3 separate regions of the Homo sapiens genome follow, and all the other regions are linked to region 2. Evidence: promoter capture Hi-C in human tissues and cell types (Jung and others, 2019). All regions are on one chromosome and are shown on one strand. The core of a region is centred on a gene start or on the middle of the fragment in contact, and the rest is flanking DNA. Distances in the headings are between cores, read along the strand shown. Region 1 overlaps CTIF (cap binding complex dependent translation initiation factor). Region 2 holds the start of LIPG (lipase G, endothelial type). Region 3 has its middle 12 kb from the start of MYO5B.

Region 1 (2,700 bases), core at 4-2,503, 890 kb after region 2:
ACCACCAACAGACCCTTTACTTAACTAGCTCACTAAATGCCTTTTCAGAGTGCAGAACTATTCCTGGCAGCAGGGGTTCACAGAGGTATAGGGTGAGCCCTGGACACAGACACCTACTGTCTACCCTGTTGCCCCACATCCTTGTGGGGGCTCCAAGAGCCTGAGTCCAGCAGCTCCAGAGATGAAGTTCCTGAGGTCAGCACTGCAGTGAGACTCACCCCTGGATTCATTGCCAGTTGTGGAAACACAGCCAGATGGAGTCACCAGGAATAGGGGCCTTGGCTTTGGCTGGAGAGGAGCTTGGCCAGACGCCTAGGTGTCAGCATCTGACCCCCAGTGGAGGCATCACCTCCTAAAACCACTCATTGTGGCATGCGCTCTGTGTGTAACCCACTGAGAGATAAGCTAGGGCTCCCAGGAGATCAACAGGCATTCAGTGTGGGGGCCCATGGCGCCCTCTGCTTTGTACTCAGCCACACATTCACGCCCCAGACTGCAGGAGCTGCAGCAGCACAGGGGAGGAAGGTGGGGTGTACTGGGAGAGGACCCAGACTTTGCCCTTCAGGGACTGTGACCTGGGCAAGGCACCAGCACTTGCTCGGGCATTTGCAGCTTTGAATGCATGTGGTAATCTGTGCATGTCTCATTTCCTCTACTAGGCTGTGCCTCTCGTGGGGAACTGTATCTTATGTGATCAATTCTCTCTCTCTAAAAGGCTAGGGCAGAGCACTTGTCCATGAAGATGAGTTAAGTGAGCAAGTGAAGGAAAGAGGAAGATTTGGCAGAGGCACTTGAGGCTTACAGAACAGCCATGTGCTCCCCTTCTTCCCGCTCCCCTGCAGAAGTGTCAGCCCTTGCAGTTGGGGCGGGGGCATGTGACTAGTTCTGTCCAATGGGCTCTGAGTGGAGCTGATATTTCTGGGCCAAAGCATTTAAGACATACAGCAGGGGTGTCCAATCTTTTGGCTTCCCTGGGCCACACCGAAACAACTGTCTTGGGCCACACATAAAATACACTAATGATAGCTGATGAGCTAAAACAAAAAATTGTAAAATACCTCATAATGTTTTAAGAAAGTTTAAAAATTTGTTTTGGGCCATATTCAAAGCCATCCTGGGCCACAGGTTGGCCAAGCTTGACCTAGAACACGACCCTCCAGCTCTCTTTGCCTGTGCCAGGGCCACTTGGATACCATGGATTGAGATGGCAGGGCCACAGAACGCAATCCACCTGGACCCTGGAGTCCCCAAGGAGCTACCCTGGAGACCAGCTGGACCCTCAGCAGAATTTCAGAAAGTTAGAAATAAAATTCTGTGTGTGATTCCACTGAGATGTGGGGTTTGTTTAGTATTATGCCATGGCCTATAGTGTCCTAATACAGGAGACGATGGAAAAATCCTGTTTTCTTTAACAACAACAACAACAAATGTGTCTCAGAAATCACACCGAGAAGAGCATAACCAGGTTCATGCTGAATTTCTGCTGGGAAGTGGTGGGAGAAACTCAGAGACAGAGGGACGACTGAGTGTCAAGACAGACACAAATCCTGCCTTTCTTGTACACTCTAGACAACACAACAGCACATCTAGAAAGGAGGTTCTTCAGCAGCACTCACTCTAGAGCACCTGGTGCTGGGGTTATGAGGCTGAAGGAAATGGCCCAGCCCTCAGGCAGCCCAGAGTCCAGGAAGGGAGTCTGGCAGTTATGTAAGCAGGTGCGACGTGGTGGGAGCCATGCCACAGAGATGGGGGCAGGGGCTCTGGGGAAATGGCAGGTGGATGCTGGACTCCATCCTGTGCATCTGAGAGGGATCAGGGGAGGTATCCTGAGCCAGAAAAAGGACAGGCAGAGAAGGGCTGAGTGAGATTTTAGGCAGAGGGAACCGCCTGCTGGTGAGAAAGCAAGGAGAGATGGAAGATCAGAACAGATCAGGGGAGGGACTGACAGGGCCACAGGATGGCAGGGGGAGCCCAGGACAGAGGCTGGGCAAGGGTGCTGAGAACATCACAAAGCCTCCTGCCTGCTAAGGAGTCCGAACAGGGACAGAAGGGGCCGGAGATGGGGGTCTGGGCCTCTGTGGGTTGAGAACATGCTGGGGACACAGCTGGTAGGATCTTTATGCCCCTCTTCTTCTGGGGTGCAGAAGTGGAGGGCAGGTAGGCAATGGGCTTGAGGCCAACCTCCCTTTGTCACCCTCTTTCCTTCTTGCCTCCAGGTAGGGAGGGGAGGCCAGCCCTGATTTTTGTCTAAGAAAGTCTCTAGGAAGCCCGCTTATCTATGTACAGGCTCAAGACTCCCATAGGAGGGCTGGAGGTCCTCAGGCTAGAGGTGGGCTTTCCCTCCCATTTGGGGGCCTTCAGCTGGATGCACAATATCTCCTAGGTGAATCTGGAAGTAGGAGGATGTTTTTGGTGGTCACTATGCCTGCCCCTCTCCAGTGACGGCCATTCAGTGGCAGAGGCCAGGAGTCCTAAATATCCCACATTGCATTGGACACGTCCATACTATTAAGAGTTGTCCCCACCACATATGCTAATAGCTAGGCCAGCTGACCCTCAGGACCCAAGGCCAGACGAGTGAACCAGCCAGCCCTATTTATGAGGGGCTTTGAAGAACACTAGGAAAACTCAGATAAGTCATCCCATTGTGCTCTCACAGGACCGCAAATTCCTCAAACACCAAAAGTCTGTGTTTGGGGA
Region 2 (2,712 bases), core at 161-2,660:
AGTGTCTGACACTAAGTAGGTATGCAGTAAATACTTTTTGCAATGAAGGAAATGACTCACACATACTCAGAGGCCCAGAACACAGAAGTTAGAAGGAACTTTAGCATTTTACAGGTGAGGAGCCAGAGATGAGACCTGCCCTAGGCAATGCTTCTAGTTAGCACCAGAGTTGGAAACATGTTGAGTAAAGCAAGGCTTTCCATTCATTCACAGTAACCCTCCCACACATACACAAGCCCACACAGACCATTTGGCACAACCTCAGCAGACTAGAAGATGAGATGATGGGGTTCAGTTTAGAGGCTCCCCAGCCCTCCACTGCTTATCAGCTGACTTAGTTCTCACTCTGATTCTGACTCCCCCAGAGCTGACTGACTCTGGCTCCCCCAGGGCAAGCTGCCTCCACTGGCAAAGGCTGCCATACAGAACCCAAGAGGAAGAGAAGCTAAAAGCCAGGAGGAGGAAAGGGAGGAGGAGTGGGAAGAGGAAGAGTCGGGGGAGCACAAGAGTGTTGAAGAGGAAAAGGCTGGCAACCTGGGGGAATAGGCCCGGCAGCTTCTAAGCACAAGCGACCCACCAGACGCTCCCTGCAAGCACGAATCAAACCAAAGCCAGCTACCCTGCCACCTGAACTTTCAAGACACCTACACCAAGATTAAAAGGCAGCTCCAGGAGACACAGCTCTGACAGCCTTCTTGCCTCTCAAACCTCCAGGTTCAGGCATGAGGACAAGGTTTCAGAGCTGCTGCCAGGCCGCTCGGCTGGCTGGACAGCACCAGCACTGGCTTAGGGAGCCGTATAAGGGAAGGAGGTGGGGGTGGGAGGGCTGGCAAGAGCCAGCGCACCCTGCCAGCCTTTGCCTTTTGCATGACTTGCCGGGAATGCCCCCATCAGACCAGCAGAGAGACAGGTGGACTCCAAGGTGGATTGGAGGAGAGAATGGGCAGCGCAGTGGGAAAGGAAGAATTTCATAGGAACAAGGAGGGTTTGAAGAATCAGCAAGACAGAGGGGACCCAGCACAGAGAAGTGGCTGGGGGGAATAAAAACAAATTCACGTTACCTTCCAGCCGTCCCTCTGGACCAAAAGGTACGGGGCTCCCCGCAGCAAAGCAATAGCAGAGGCTCCAGAAACAGAGCAGAGGAACGGAGTTGCTCATCCTGCCCCGCCACACCCCCTCCCAAGAAACAGAAGTTTTAAAAAACAAAAACCACCTCTTGGTGTTTCCAGCAATCCCGGCCGGTAAGACCCTTCTCTCGGCCAGGGGCTGGGGGACTGGAGGCAGAGAAGGTGGAAAATGAAAACTTGGCGGCACGGAGCCCGGGCGGTGGCAGGGAGCGAGTGTCAACGGCTTGCCCCAGAACGAGATCTGCCCTCGTCCTGAGCCGCCGGGAGGCAAGGACTCGCTGCTGTCACGCTCCTATAGAGGTAGTTTTTAAAAGTATGGGAGTCATCTGACCCATCGCCAGATGGTGATTTGCATAATTTATTCCCGTCTCTGGGCTCTGATTGGTCACACCTTGCTGACGCCGGAACCGAGACTGGAGAAAGTTTGAATGAAAGCGCTGCACACTCACCGCGTGGACGCCGCACGCTCGGCCCCGCTTCCTCCCGGGCCCGCTCCGCAGGCAGCTGCGACTCCAGCAGCTCCAGCTTTCTCCCACTGCCCTCCTCCGGACACCCAGATCCTCCTCTCCCCACTGCCATCCCAAGTGGCGGAGGCGGACATTTCCCTGAAACTCTGCGTCCGCTGGGGAGGCGATCCCTGGAGAAGGAGAGCATCCTCTCCAAGGCTCAAAGCCACACTCTCTCTGGGAGTGGTCTATCCGCTCCCTGGGCCGGGAGTCCGTCGGGGGAGAGCCACCTGGTCATCCCCTTTGTCCTCCTCTTCTCCCTCCCTTCCCGCCTAGCGAGGGCCGCAACAGGTGCAGAAGGCGCGGCCGCACAATAACCCGGCGGAGCTAAGGGGCTGTGAGCTGCGGCCGGCGCTGGAGGATCGCACAGTACCTGCTCGGAATGCTCGCTCCGCCACTAGCTGCAAAACTCCAAGCGAGCCAGCCAGCTTCTCCGAGGCGGTTCTCTCGTCCGCAATACGTGGGTGATAATGTATCGGCGGCTTAGGGATGTTGGGAAAACTAAGAGTTCACGTAGCAAAGCACTTAGCGAGGCGCGGAGCTCGTGGCAGGCGCTCTCCTACGGTGGGGTGGAGGGCTACGGGAACACCAGGCGACCTCCTCAAAGGGACCAGTGAGCCGAGATTTGGAGTCTAAGACGCGTGGCCAGAGCCCAGTGTCTGCCGATGAGCACTCACTCCTTGGCGAGTGAAATCAAGCATCTCCTTTCTCTCTGTTCTCCATCATTTCCTCCCGGCTCTCCTTCCCTTTATTGATCCGGGTCCTGCGGCAGAAAGCAGCGAGCGGAGGGAGAACTTGGCCCGGAGTCTGCGTCTGGCGCTGGGGAGCGGGGACTGAGCCCGGAACACCGACGGGGCGGCTGCGCCAACAACCACTGCGGACGCAGGGCGGGTACGAGAGGCTGAGAGGCTGCGTCCCGCCATCCAGCCTCGCTCCAGCCGGGAGGATCCGGCTCTTTAAGACGATACCCTTAACCCTGCAGTCGCCCGGAACAGGTCCTGCCCCTGCCTGGGGAGGGAAAACCCCCACAGCAGTCCCGCGCCCCTTCCTCCCTAGCGTCGAGGATCCAGCTGGAGAGA
Region 3 (2,918 bases), core at 210-2,709, 650 kb before region 2:
ATACGGTTATCAGAGGCATTCCTGATTATGTACTATTCTGATTAGGCTGGAAAGATGAGAAATCACAGGCTTGAGGGTTATAGGGCCACTGCGCCCAGTCTATGGATCAATAATATTTTTAAAAATCAAAATTAATGCAAAAAGTCCACAAAGCATGAAATATCAAAATTTTAAATAAAGACAGGATCTGGCAGTGCTATGCTCAACCATGTTGGAATCAGAGGCCAAAAGAAAAATGTGTGTCTGTATAGACATGCCTTAATGTATTTCTTCAGTGGTTAACTTTTTCCAGAAGTAGATATTATTGATTGATCCAGAAAATATTATTGATGAGCTTGCTTCATTAAAGCCAGTGAAGTTATACTAACTTCTGGTTTTGTTATTATGCAGTTAAAGATTAATTCAGCAGGCTTGAGGTGTCCAACCCTGCACATTCCAAAGAAAGGATGGACCCTTGAGGCTCCCGGGAGATATAACCTGTGAGTTCTTGGAATTCTGCCTGATATGAGTGTCTTTGTCTTCCTAGAGACTTGGACTACCCTAGATAGCTTCTTATTTTTTATTTTAGAGATGGAGTCTCACTCCGTTGCCCAGGCTGGAGTGCAGTGACACGATCATAGTTCACTGCAGCCTCGAATTCCTGGGCTGAAGCCATCCTCTTGCCTCAGATTCCTGAGTAGTTAAGACTATGGGAACATGCCACTACACCCAGCTAATTTAAAAAATTTTTTGTATAGGCAGGATCTTGTTCTGTGCCCAGGCTGGTCTCGAACTCCCAGCCTCAAGCAGTCCTCCTGCCTCAGCCCCTCAGAGCACTGGGATTACAGGCATGAGCTACTGCACCTGGCCTATCCCGGATTTATACTAACGATGTAATTTTTGTTGAAACCTGTTGTTGTTCACCTGGGAACCTGGGCCATGCTGTATTCATTTCACCTCTGGAGGTGGGAGAAATGAAGACTGGCCCCCAGTGAAAACCTTGCAAGTTTGGGTGAGCTTCCCTGCTTGGCAATACTTCCTCCATGTTGTCACACATCATTGCTGGGTGCTCTCCCTACAATTCTCCTTGTTAAGGACAATGGAAGCTTATGTCTCGTCTCTTCTGGACTCTGCCCTGTGCACTTTTTTTCCTTTGCTGATTGTAATCTGCATCCTTTCATTGTAATAAGCCAAAACCATGACTATAACAGCTTTTTTGAATTCTGTGAGTCCTTCTAGCAAATCCTCAAACCTGGAGTCCTGGAGATCCCTTAACACAAGTATAATAAAATATTTAAGCTTAACATAATGTGCATTTTAACAACCCACTTTAAAATTTTTCAATATTTTTTAACTCCTTTAAGATCCTGGGAAAAGTTAACCTTTAAAAATATACAGCTGGGGCTGGGCGTGGTGGCTCACGCCTGTAATCCCAGCACATTGGGAGGCCGAGGCAGGCGGATCACCTGAGGTCGGGAGTTTGAGACTAGCCTGACCAACATGGAGAAACCCTGTCTCTACTAAAAATACAAAAATTAGCCAGGCGTGGTGGCGCATGCCTGCAATCCCAGCTACTCGGGAGACTGAGGCAGGAGAATTGCTTGAACCCGGGATGCGGAGGTTGCAGTGAGCCGAGATCGCGCCATTGCACTGCAGCCTGGGCAACAAGAGCGAAACTCCATCTCTCTCTCTCTCTCTCTATACACACACACACACACACACACACACACACACACACACACACACACATATATATATACAGTTGGGCATGGTGGCACATGTTTATAGTCCCAGCTACTCCAGAGGCTAAAGCAAGAGGATTGCTTGGGTTCAGGAGTTCTGGGCTGTAGTGTGTTATGCTGACCGGGTGTCTGCACTAAGTTTGGCATCAACATAGTGAACTCCCAGGAGCTGGGATCACCAGGTTGCCTAAGGAGGGGTGAACCAGCCCAGGTCAGAAACTGAGCAGGTCAAAATTCCTGATCGAGGCTGTGAACAGCCACCGTACTCCAGGCTGGGCAACATAGTGAGACCCTGCCTCTTAAAAAGAAATACAAGGCTGAGTGCGGTGGCTCATGCCTGTAAACCCAGCAGTTTGGGAGGCTGAGGTGGGTGGATCACCTGAGGTCAGGAGTTTGAGACCAATCTGACCAATGTGGCGAAACCCTGTCTCTACTAAAAATACAAAAATTAGCTGGGCGCGGTGGTGGGCGCCTGTAATTCCAGCTACTTGGGCGGCTGAGACATGAGAATAGCTTGAACCTGGGAGGCGGTTGCAGTGAGCCGAGATTGCGCCATTGCACTCCAGCCTGGGCAACGGAGTGAGACTCCAGCTCAAAAAAAAATGTATATAGGGGCACACATTTTTACCTCTGGCCTTTGGATTCTATATGGCTTAGCATGGCACTCCTGAATCCTGTCTTTATTTAAATTTGTGTTTTTTTTCGTCATGGACCTTTTTTTTTTTTTTTTTTTTTTGCTATTGCATTAAATTATTGTCCTAATGTCTTGAGTACTAAGTTTTCTTGGTGCTTATTTAAATTTTGGGCCTGAGGTGAATGTCAGGGGTAGAGCCTTCCAGGGAAGGAGCCAGTAGCTTCAAATAGCCTGAGGTGAGAATAAGCACAGCATGTTTGAGGAACAGAAAGAAGGGATTGAGGTCGGGAGCTCAAAGTAAGAAAGGAGAAGGGCAGGAAGAGATGAGGTCAAATAAATGGAAGTGGAGAGACCAAGCAGGTGGTTTTTGCAGTAGCCCAGCAGGAAATGGCTGGGGCTGGTGGAGGGTGGCACCACTGGAGATGGAAAAGGTGCCTGATTTGGGATGTGCCTTGGAGATTGAACTATTAGGCTTTGCTGATGGATTAGAATTGAGAATTGAGGAAAATGGGCTGGGCGCGGTGGCTCACACCTGTAATCCCAGCAGTCTGGGAGGCCGAGAT

The links. The method cuts DNA at HindIII sites, captures the fragments that hold promoters and counts their contacts. A contact is called where the count stands out against the background at its distance.
Region 1: a fragment that was not itself captured here is called in contact with the fragment with the promoter of LIPG in region 2 in 1 of the 25 tissues and cell types used here (spleen).
Region 3: a contact is called between a fragment that was not itself captured here and the fragment with the promoter of LIPG in region 2, in 1 of the 25 tissues and cell types used here (dorsolateral prefrontal cortex).

What each region holds. Positions count from the first base shown.
Region 1 is chr18:48,672,156-48,674,855 of GRCh38, reverse strand. The region is part of intron 6 of CTIF (cap binding complex dependent translation initiation factor); the gene reads right to left. It overlaps LOC105372107 (a long non-coding RNA gene), which reads left to right. Exons shown (of 4, transcript XR_007066460.1): 4 at 1,180-1,331. Among named protein-coding and RNA genes, the nearest start is that of MIR4743, 2.9 kb to the right of the region's middle. The HindIII fragment of the contact is 5,935 bases long and covers 1-2,700 here.
Region 2 is chr18:49,560,755-49,563,466 of GRCh38, reverse strand. It overlaps LIPG (lipase G, endothelial type), which reads right to left and starts at 1,410. Exons shown (of 10, transcript NM_006033.4): 1 at 1,062-1,410. The coding sequence starts at 1,158. RefSeq lists an enhancer at 703-1,203. The HindIII fragment of the contact is 10,319 bases long and covers 1-2,712 here.
Region 3 is chr18:50,206,101-50,209,018 of GRCh38, reverse strand. It overlaps the pseudogene RN7SL310P. Among named protein-coding and RNA genes, the nearest start is that of MYO5B, 12 kb to the right of the region's middle. The HindIII fragment of the contact is 4,732 bases long and covers 1-2,918 here.